Linked DNA regions of Homo sapiens: region 2 is linked to region 1. The links are contacts of gene promoters, found by promoter capture Hi-C in blood cells and fetal thymus (Javierre and others, 2016). All regions are on one chromosome and are shown on one strand. The core of a region is centred on a gene start or on the middle of the fragment in contact, and the rest is flanking DNA. Distances in the headings are between cores, read along the strand shown. Region 1 holds the start of MYCBP2 (MYC binding protein 2). Region 2 overlaps MYCBP2 (MYC binding protein 2).

What was found. Contacts are between HindIII fragments. The CHiCAGO score rates a contact against its expected background, and 5 or more counts as called.
Region 2: a fragment that was not itself captured here is called in contact with the fragment with the promoter of MYCBP2 in region 1 in 4 of 17 cell types (total B cells, naive B cells, fetal thymus and 1 more); the score reaches 8.8 in total B cells.

What each region holds. Positions count from the first base shown.
Region 1 is chr13:77,324,982-77,330,222 of GRCh38, forward strand. It overlaps MYCBP2 (MYC binding protein 2), which reads right to left and starts at 2,113. Exons shown (of 83, transcript NM_015057.5): 1 at 1,493-2,113. The coding sequence starts at 1,794. It overlaps LOC127898562, which reads right to left and starts at 2,007. Exons shown (of 1, transcript NM_001414702.1): 1 at 1,924-2,007. The coding sequence starts at 2,007. The coding sequence ends at 1,924. LOC107984564 (a long non-coding RNA gene) reads left to right here and starts at 2,064. Exons shown (of 2, transcript XR_001749930.2): 1 at 2,064-2,154; 2 at 2,283-3,217. RefSeq lists enhancers at 413-592, 2,263-2,592, 4,614-4,693 and silencers at 1,533-1,652, 1,693-2,072. The HindIII fragment of the contact is 13,146 bases long and covers 1-3,317 here.
Region 2 is chr13:77,063,503-77,068,743 of GRCh38, forward strand. It overlaps MYCBP2 (MYC binding protein 2), which reads right to left. Exons shown (of 83, transcript NM_015057.5): 70 at 5,063-5,241; 71 at 4,079-4,362; 72 at 2,490-2,586; 73 at 1,113-1,232. Among named protein-coding and RNA genes, the nearest start is that of MYCBP2-AS1, 9.4 kb to the right of the region's middle. The HindIII fragment of the contact is 2,502 bases long and covers 1,215-3,716 here.

The DNA.
Region 1 (5,241 bases), core at 863-3,362:
GCATTAGCAAGAAACAGACTTGTGCCATTCTGGCCTTCAGTTCAGATAGCAAAAAATAGTTACACACGTTTACATCCATATGGTAAAACTACTGCTGTGCCCAATCCTGTAAACAATCACAGACATGAGAAAACTGGTTAACCTAGAAAAAGTGTGAACAAAGCTCCAGCTTTACAACTGTCTCCAACAGATAAGCCATGATACCTAGTGATAAGCTACAAATACCTGACTTACAGCCTCGTCCCTTTCATAATGGGAGAAAAAGACACCTAACAATTGCCTAATAAATTGCACATTCAATAAATAACAGTAAACTCTTTAACTCATTTTGACAGTTTCCTACTATGTTTTCCCCATGTACTGCAAGAAGCTGTGGGAAAAAAAAGATGAAGCCAACTCCCAATTACCACTGTCAAAGCTGGTGAAACAAGTCAGTCACCAACCTTCAGGGTATGCGGCATGTAAGGGCATGGAAAAGAAAACAATAGGAGAGCCCTCAGCAAAAAAAAGCACCCACATTTTAAGAAAAAGAAAATGAAACCAACTGAACATCTACATCAAGGAAGCTGAAGGTGTAGCCAACCCAAGTAAAAGAGACAAATCTACGCGCTATTCAGATTTTCTAGCTAGTGGCAGTTGAACGCTGTACCAGCTGTCATATTCTGAAGTTCTGCAGTTTTCCCCTTTTCCCTACAAAACCCTCTCTACTCTAAAGCCTGTAAGTAACAGAGGAAATCGAACAGAGGATGAAGAGAAATGGCCGATGGGACATCAGATCACAAGAGTAACTGCAACCTCATTTCTAGAAGACCAAAAGGCCCGGTTATCAAAGTACAGCTCTAAAAATCTCTATCAGACACCTTTCGCATCCACACAGATCTCCATCTGCGTCCCTTATTCATAAATCTTTTTAAAGCAAACCTCACGCCTATCCCTCGGGCCTGCTTATCCAAAACTCAACCAATCTATACCATGACTCCTCTTGGTGAAAGGCAGATTGAAGGGAGGTGGAAAGGGCTGGAAGGAATGTCATGGGAGAGGCGGCACGTGCAAATAACATTGCGGCAGAGACACTGAAAACGCCACTTCCCTTGCCACTGTTGCAATTCTCTTCGTGTATCATCCTCTTACCCTCTCTACCCATGCCACCTCCTACCTCAACGATACACACACGTGTCACAGCCGACCAGCACCATCGCCTTTTCCAGCATCACAGGTTCCCCTACCACCCCTCACTATCCCCCCACATAGGCAGGCAGACACACACACACACACACACACACACACACACACACACACACACGAGAAACTGCAGCCACCGCACCCTCCTATCTCGATAAGTGCTCCTGCCAACAGACATCCAGAGCGGACTGAAAGCTCAATAAATGCGCAGGTACACACACGCAAGCACACACACACGCGGGTGCACGCGCGGCATGGGGCGCAAGGAAGGGCGGCATGGGGCGCAAGGAAGGGCACCCTGGGGACGCACCTGGAGGCTGGGTGTCCAGCGCTGCCGCCCCCCTGGTCCCTGTCATTGAGCGCAGCGGTATAAATCCTCCGGTAGCGGTCGGCCAGGGCCCGGCCTGACAGCAGCAGCTGGTAGTGACCCCGGGAGTCCGCGGCGGGTAGCCCCAGCCCCAGCCCCGCAGCAGCCACGGAGCCGTCGGGAACCGGCATGAACAGCGCCCCCGGCGCCGGGGAGGAAGAGAAGGTGGCGGCTGGGTAGAATCCGTCCCCGCCGAGCCCCGAGGAGGCGGCGGCGGGGGAGGCAGTCGCTGCGCACATCATCATCCTCGCCGCCGCCGCCGCCGCCGCCGCCTCGTCCCCGCGGGCCGGGCGGGCAGACACGCGCGCGCACACACAGCCCTTTTCCAACGACGACGGCTCCGGCGGCGGCCTCTGGCTCCCGCAGCAGGGAGACTACAAAGACAGCGACCTCCTTCTCCTCCTCCTTCTTCTCCTCCTCCCCCCCGCGCCGCCCTCGCCGCTACTGGGGCCGCTCATCTAACCCCGCCACCCCGGGAATGTGAGGAGGAGGCGGTGCCGCCACTGCCGCCGCCACCACCGCTACCACCGCCACCACCGCCGGGGCTACCCGCAATGGGAAGCTGCCGGCCTCACAGAGCATGCGCCACTCCTCGCACATGCTCAGTAACTGCCGCCCCTTTTCCTCCCCACCCCCTCTCCGCCACCACTCCCTCCGCCTCGGGGCTTTGGGTTTGGGGCTGTTGGGTTGTGCGGAATCTGAAGTAGTCCACTTCTCCGGGTTTTACTGGCAGCTTGAAGAAGAGTAAGGAAAGTGCTGGGGAGGCTGTCAGCTACTGACGTTCGACTTCAGGTTCCCTCCAGGTGGAAGAACGAGGACCAGAAAGCAAGGGGGAACGTGCCCATCGCCAGAGGAGGAGTGGCACGCTCTTCTGCTACCTCTTCTCCAAGGCTCTGCTGCCAACAGGAAGATTTACTGTGAATTGTGCTGGTTAATTCAGAGTTTAAGGCAGAGAAAACCATCCCAATTAGAAGTGCCTTTAGCGATCTTATTTTATATGGTTTTTGTCATTAGGATTTACGCTTGTTTAACACAGCTTTTACTTACAAAGACAGGTAGTAATCTAGCACATTCTTTTTTGTGTGTGAAAGTATTTTGTGTGTGAAAGTATAACAGATAGGCTAGTATTCACAAGCCAGAGTCATTCCCAAATTCTTGTTCTCAACGGAGCAATAATATTTTTTAAATTACTCTTTTTTATTGACTCCTCACTCACCTAAGAGTGCACTTTTATCTCTTGGCAGTGGTCATTTAATGGTTTATTTTTTTCTGCCCAAACTTACATTTTTAAAGATAATTCTTGAATGCGATCTGAAACAATAATTGTGACGGAGACTGTATAGCGTCTGAAAATGTCAGATCCATCACATATCTTGTTGTTGTCTATAAAAAAGTAACATTTGCTCAGTCCTTTGTTCCAAGCTAACCTACGAACCCCATCTAAGTATATGCTCTAGAAATATACGTGCCAATGCACTTTGATTCCTACTACGTTTTATCCTTTGACTCTCAATTTGAAGAGTTTCCTAATTTACAGTCCTGACAAAATAATTTATAAGTTCTGTCATCCCAGTACTGTATCTTTCATCTATGTACTAGTTCTTATATCTGTGCCTCTTCTTCGGATGGCCTTCTCTTAAAAAAAAATAAAATAAATGTTAAAAAATCCTCCTTAGTGTTTGAGAAGTGCAAACAACAAGGAATAGGAAAGTAAATTAATTCTAGTTTTAGGGTGGAAGGTTGCTGAAAGCAATGCATTTTTTTCTGAAGCTTTAAATAATGGATGGATTTCATTTAGTTTTTTTAAAGATAATTAGCAGTGGGATAAACATAGGAACAAAGGACAAGACATGTGGAATCATAGTATTTTAGTACTGTAATTAGCCCTGTTAAGTTTTTGTATTTGTCTTGTTTCCTTACCTAAGTTCCTTCAGAGCTTGCTGCTTTTGTGTCTCCTTCAGCCACTTCAGGACTTTGCATGTAGTAGGTATCCAGTAAGTATTTATTAGACTAAATTTCTATCCTAATGCTTCAGCACAGTTAAAGACCTCAGTGTTGACCAGGCAGCCCCTAACCCTGGAGTGAGAACCAAGACAATGGTGTAGAGGCAGCTAAATTCTAAGAATTCTAAGGCCTGACAGGTAAGCAATGAGAGGGCCCATTACTATTGCAAGACCTAGCAGGGTAGCTAAAAGGCTCTGAAATCAGACAGCCCTGGAATTGGATCCTGACTCTGCTACTTAATACTTGTCTGGCTTTGGGCAAATTATCTCCTCTGAATAATGCTCAAAAGAATACCCACTACATGAGATTGAGGGAGGACTTAAAGGATCTAGGATGTCCAACTTGGCACATGAATTTTCACAAATGGTAGCACATACTAAACAAAACACTAGGTTTTCCGTAGGGTAGCAATGGTGTCTGTTCAACCATCACAGGCTCCTAGCACAGGGTCTAGCCCTGAACAGGAGGGAAATAGATGTTGGCTGAATGAATGAATGTTGCTTGCACAGAAAACATTTACAGCGCAGGCTCAGGTGGTGGAATGTGCAGTCACTGCCCATTTAGAGTTTCTAGTGGACATTGACCCGCGTGGCTGCCCTGGTCTCCGGGCTCTTCCCACCATTCATTAATTTCGCTTCAATCTTTACTGCTGTTCAGTCCCAGACAGGCCCCTACGGAGCCTGATGGGTACACTCAAAACCCGGAAACTGGATAACTTGCTAAGAAGCCCGATGTCATTGAGCTGCGCAACTAGGCGTGCGCAGAGTCGCACACATGCTCACTTAGGTATCCGAGAGTGGCATTTCTGTTGCGGTTGGCAGCGTTTCCTTCCACGGCAGCGGCAGCGGTCGCTCTCCTCAAAATTGATAGCCAGTGCAGCGTTTTTTCTCCTCCTCCTCCTCTTCCTGCCTCCGCACGGCGCGCTCCCCGGTCCCTGCAACTGCCACAGCTACCGCCTTGGCAGCTGGGCAACTTGGAAGGCTCCCCTGGGATGGCGGGGGAGTGGGGCGCATGCCAGAAAGAAAAAGGCATTTGGAGTCACCCTTACTTCTACTGTCAAGGGGACGTGAAGGAGAGTGTGGTCACAAGTCGCGAGGGTCGCCTGAACCGTCGCTGCAGATCGGAGACGTGGGTTTCTGGCAGTATGCAAAGCAAGCGTCCCCTCCCGCCGCTCCTGCGAGCTCTACTACCGAATGCCTTACGCAGCCCTTGTGTTTGGGGAAAGAGGGGGACCTATACAGAATGAAAAAACACAGAGGGCTTTGCTTTTCTTTCCCCACCCCACCGAGCTCGGCCCCCGTGCTTTCTGCGCTGCCATCTTAGTTCCTCCAGCGGCCGGGCTGGGCGTGTGTGCATTTGTGTGTACAGGGAGGGCTGCAGCCGGGGGGCGTGGGGGCCGCCTGGGCGGCTTGGGTGTCGGAATGGGCTAGACAGCAGTTCACCCACGACACATTCGCCCTCAAAGAATAGCATTGAACTACGGCAAATCCTGCCTGTGCCCATTTTATTACGGGCGTAGTATGTTTTATTCTTTGTGGTTGGTATGCTCATTTCGCAAAAGAGATCTCTCTGTCCTGTGCCCATGTAATAAGACTATGGCTTCATCTTTCCCCTTGTGATCACAGATTTAGTCGTTCTTTTCCACTTAACATTGCAAACCTGGACCACAGTTTTTTGAACTCTTATCA
Region 2 (5,241 bases), core at 1,216-3,715, 260 kb before region 1:
AGCCAAGATCGTACCATTGCACTCCAGCCTGGGCATCAAGAGTGAAACTCTGTCTCAAAAAAAAAAAAAAAAAAAAAAAGACAACTGTTTTCAGAAATAGTTAAAAATTTCTGAGGCTTAAAGGGTAAGCTTCAGTTTTATATAGAATGATATATCCCCTCATTAATGAAGAATAGAAAATGACTTAACTAGCTCAACTCTAAGAAGTGCATGTGAGTGTTATTGGATACAGAAAGCAAGAGATGTTAAAATAGGGACAGAAAAATAGAAAAAGAAATAATGCATGCAAGGAGGAAGGGGAATGCAGACTGAAAGAAAGCAACACATGAGTGGTAGGAAAGGATTACTGTCAAAAATACCTATTTCAGGTGTCACAGTCAATAATAGCAAGATAGCATAAATTGACTTTTTCCGCCCTAGGGATATATAGTTTATCTTCTTCAGATTTCTGAGGATTAACCTAAGCAATTTTTACCAGCATTCACTTCTTCCTAACGTTGTCAGACTGCCCTCCTTCAAGGAAATCTCAAATCTCTTCTGGAAGTATATGGGACATGAAATCTAGCAGGTTAAAACTTACTATAAATGTGTCATCTGAAGAATGCAATCTCATTTCCTCAAAGATTTCCACCCTGACCCTGCCCTGGACAAGCACTTCTTGCTTTTTAGAAGTAAGACCTATAAATCCTGTAAGTAAGTTACAGGGCTCTACATTAGGAACAACCAGGCATAGGCAGGGGTCTTGTCTCCAAAGGACCTTCGGTCTATCACAGCATAATGCTGGCACTAAACTTACTGTGGTAAACTACAGCAAACAGATCATTAGAAAGACAACACGCAAACAATGTACAATGTAATTAGCCTTTTCTAACCAGTGTACCCTTGGCTTCCTAAACAATAACAAAAACAAGTGACACAGAACACATAACAGTGAGAAGTAACGACTAGTTCATAATATAAAAGCCCTTTATACTTTTTCAATAAATACGGTATTTGGTTAAAAAATAATTATGTTGACTTAGTGATTAAAATTTGTTTAAATCTATTACTAAAAAAGAACACGCAATGATACACACCAAATTTAAAACAAAACAAAACAAAGCAAAACCTACTCTAGTTGTTGCAATACATCTCACTGGAGACCTAAATTCTTCTTCCATCTTGGTCAAGGCAATGATGGTTTCTGCAATAGCATTTTTTGTCACTCGGGACCAAGCTTCTGACAGATGACCCTATTGAGCAGAACAGAGTATTTTAATAAGTGACCAGAAATGTATTACCATAGTAAACTCTTTTTTCTTAAATAACATCTCCTATCAAAGGAAATATTTGTTTTTAGTGAGACCATGGAATTTTAGATTATGGGCACAAACTTTTGAACTAAAATTTCTTCGTGATCCTATGGAAAATTCAACTTCTAATCATCATTTTGATATTTAAAAATAAATAAATAAAAAATTAAGTTCTCAATACTCTTTTCCTGGAAATCAAGGGCAATTACTCTCACATCTGATAAAAACATAACAGAAATACTAAGGTTATCTATGTTTGAGAAGTTTGTCACTTAGCATAAAATTTACACAGTGAAGCTAACTGCTTTAGATGAGTATTACAGGAACCTAAAATATAAACAGGTTCAAACTGCAACTACCTTTATTTGCTACCTTGATTTGTAATGAACAAACATTTAACTATCATATAATTTAGGTGTTCCTAAATATTACTCCTAAATATTTTAATTCAATGAACACCCTGAGAAAGTCTGTTTGCCACAGAGGTTGAGAAAATATCCACGCTGTTGGGAAAAGTGATAGAACTTCATCTTTCCCCCAGAAAATCCTCCCACTTCTCATATCCACATGATTTAAGGGGCAGTTCAATTCCTCCTCCTTCTCCAAGCTGCCTTCTATTCCTTCTGACTCTACATTCCATACTATCTTGTCCTTCTCAGGCTGCCCTCCTAGAAATAATACAATGTGTGGAAAATGACAAGGAGCAACTAATCAGAGCCAGGCATTCTGTAAAGTAACTCCCTGTCCTCCACACTCCCAGATCTCCTTTGGAAGCCACCATCTTAAGACAGAGGGTATATGACATTAATAAAGAAGAATAAAGGGTTTAAAAACCATGAGGACTGAGGAGAATGAGAAACTTCCACTTTCGAGAGCTCTCTTCCTCTTTTTTTCCTTTAGGTTTTTTGAATCAAGTTCTTTCTTAGGGTCTGAAAGAGCATATTTTATTTTATTAGATTTTAAAGTCACGTAACAATTCCCACACAAATTAACTGGAAAATTTGAAATGAACATGGTTTACATAAATGACAAATTATCACTCACTGAAAAGACAAACAGCATGATAGTTAACATACTACAAATAGTCTTTAAGTAAAGTTACACTAATCTACATCTCCTATCAATTCAGCAGAGTAAGCTGTTTTGTGTCAGCTTCCTGCCGCACTTCACTGCCAAAACAGAAGAATGGGAACTTACTGCTGCCATATCCTTGATAAGTTTAATGATGATCTCTGAGATCTGGGTAGGGGTTGAGCCCTTCATCCACCAATGACTTTCACCTCGTCGGAGATAACTACAAGAAAAATTAGCACTTAAAAAGCCAATAAATTATCAGTAGTAGTAACAAATGAAAAAGATGAAAATGTTATTTCAGAATGCAGCATTTTAGATTTTTAAGTGACTGAATCAATTAAAACATTTAAAAAGAAAATTCATCAAACCATTACCCCAAATCCCAAGACAGCAGTTAAGGTTATTTGAGTTCCCTTTCAAGTATTTCTCTGTTTGCACATTATTTCTGTGTGCATCTTTTAGAAGTACAGTCCAGGGACCACACACGACTTATTTCTAGGGCACATGCGGATAATGTGGAGCTTAACCGGAATATAAATTCACTGTATCACTAAGCACACTACTATTTAGTTCAGCTGACTTTTTTCCTAGCAAGACTACAGGAAAGAAGTGATACAATGATTAACATTCTGATGTTATCTGCATATTGTCATGGATTGGCTCTACAAGTAGCACTGTTCAGATGTCTCTAATTCTCTACTGTTACACACAATTACAGAACATCCTTGCATATATACCTTGGTGCAAATGCATGAAAGTTTTAGAAGTAGAATTGGTAGGTCAAAAGATATGCATATTTAAAATATAGTTAGATATTATAAACAGATATCCAAAAAGGCTGCAGCAATTTATATGAGATGAAAATGCCTATTTCCTCATAATGTTGCCAAAGCATCAAAGATATTTTGCAATTATTTTAATCTACATTTCTCTGATTAGTAGTGAGGTGTTTTCATTTGTTTACTGGCATTTATAAGTTTTTTTCTGTGAACTGACTACTGGCATTTATAAGTTTTTTTCTGTGAACTGACTGTTCTTGTCATTTATTATTCTTATCAGTTGTTTGCCTTTTTAAAATTGATTTGTAGTCATACTTCTATATTATGCTAACAAGTCATTGTCTATTATATAGGTTTAAGTATTTTTCTAAGTTATTTCCCTATATTTTAAAACATTTAAATATTATCACCTATCAAGTAATTTTCATTTTTATATAGTCAAATCTATAAATATCTTCCTATATGATTTTGGGTTCTGTGTTTTGTTTAAGAAGGTCTTATCAAATTGAAGATTACAAAAATATTCTTCTATAATTTGTCCCAGTACAGTTTTAAAAAGAAATGTACATAAAGCTTTAGTTGACCTGAACTTTACTTTATTCCCCCATATTTATTTCTTTTTATTGTGGCAAAAAAACATATTACCTAAAACTGAAGTTTAATTTTGTATATGGTGAGAGGTAGGTATCTAGAATTTTTTTTAACATGGATATCCAAATATTCTGACATCACATATTCAGCCTACTTTCTATTCCCCACTAATTATAAATGACACTTTTATTATATACATGACCTTTTTAGATATTAGCCAGTTGTTTATGGATTTTATTTGGTGAGTAACCTAACAAGGTAAAATCTGAAATTATGTCTTAAATTTCTGAACAGTAGCTCACTCTATTCTGTTTTGGTACTAAAATAGAGGCAATAACTAACCTGGAATTGAAAATCATCGGAAGAGTAACTGTTGTAACTCCTTTGCCCACAGTGGTACCAGCTGTTCCAGTGATGGTGGTTCCTTTGGCTTTTAGCTGTACAGTGAGTGCTTTGGCAATGCATCCTAGAAACATGTCCAAGATACCCAGCTTATTCCAGTCTCCTTTCTCTGTTGAGTGAATGATATCACTGATATCTGCTGGGGGGAGGGATTTCACTCCTATGATGCTGGCCAGACGACTAGGGGTTACTTCAGGCAAAACTCTTCTTAGTAAAGAGGTTACCTGGTAAGAAAAATAAAATGAGAGAATTCCATGTAAAGACTAATGTTTTAAGGTTTCTTTTATTTCTCTTTTCTTTTTTTAAAGACAGGGTCTTGCTTTGTTGCCCAGGTTGGAGTGCAGTGGAGCAACCACAGCTCACTGCAGCCTTGAACTCCTAGGCTCAAGGGATCCTCCCAGCTTTGCCTCCCAAAGTGCTGGGATTACAGGCATAAGTCACTGTACCCCATCCCAGGCTTCATTTTTTAATGTACCTAACTACCATTCTGTAACTTCAAAATCTTTAAGAAAAGAAATATGATTTAAACACTATTTTACATTTTGTGAAGGAAGAAAATATGATATACATACTATTCAAATGGTAATAGTAGTGGTAATTACTAACCCAAGGCAGCACGAAAAAAAATACCTTTTCTTTCTGGTCAGGGCTAAATGACATTATATATTTCATGGTAATATGGTAATCAGTAGCCAGAATACTCTCTTATCACAACACATTAATAAAATGGAACATATTTTACTATTCTATACTCTCACTATAAACAGTAAAAAAGGGAGTAAAATACAGGCCCCAAACAAAATATAACAAAATACGAAATAAAAATCTATACTTAGGGTCCTTAGATAATTCTCTTTGCATTGCAACTTTTAACAATGTTTCAAGTAACAAAAGCAATGGAAAGGCTGTAGTGTGATCAGTCACCTGTCTCTGGACTCTAGGAGAGGCTGTGTGAAGCAGCGAGAAGAGATCCTGAAGCAGGGTTAGCTGTTGAGCCAGATATTGCCGGCCAACGTTAGAGCCACTCAGTGCTAAAACCATAGAGAGCAGCTCAAAGCAGTAGGCATCAGAGGAGGCATCTTCATCATTTGGCTGAGAATTGG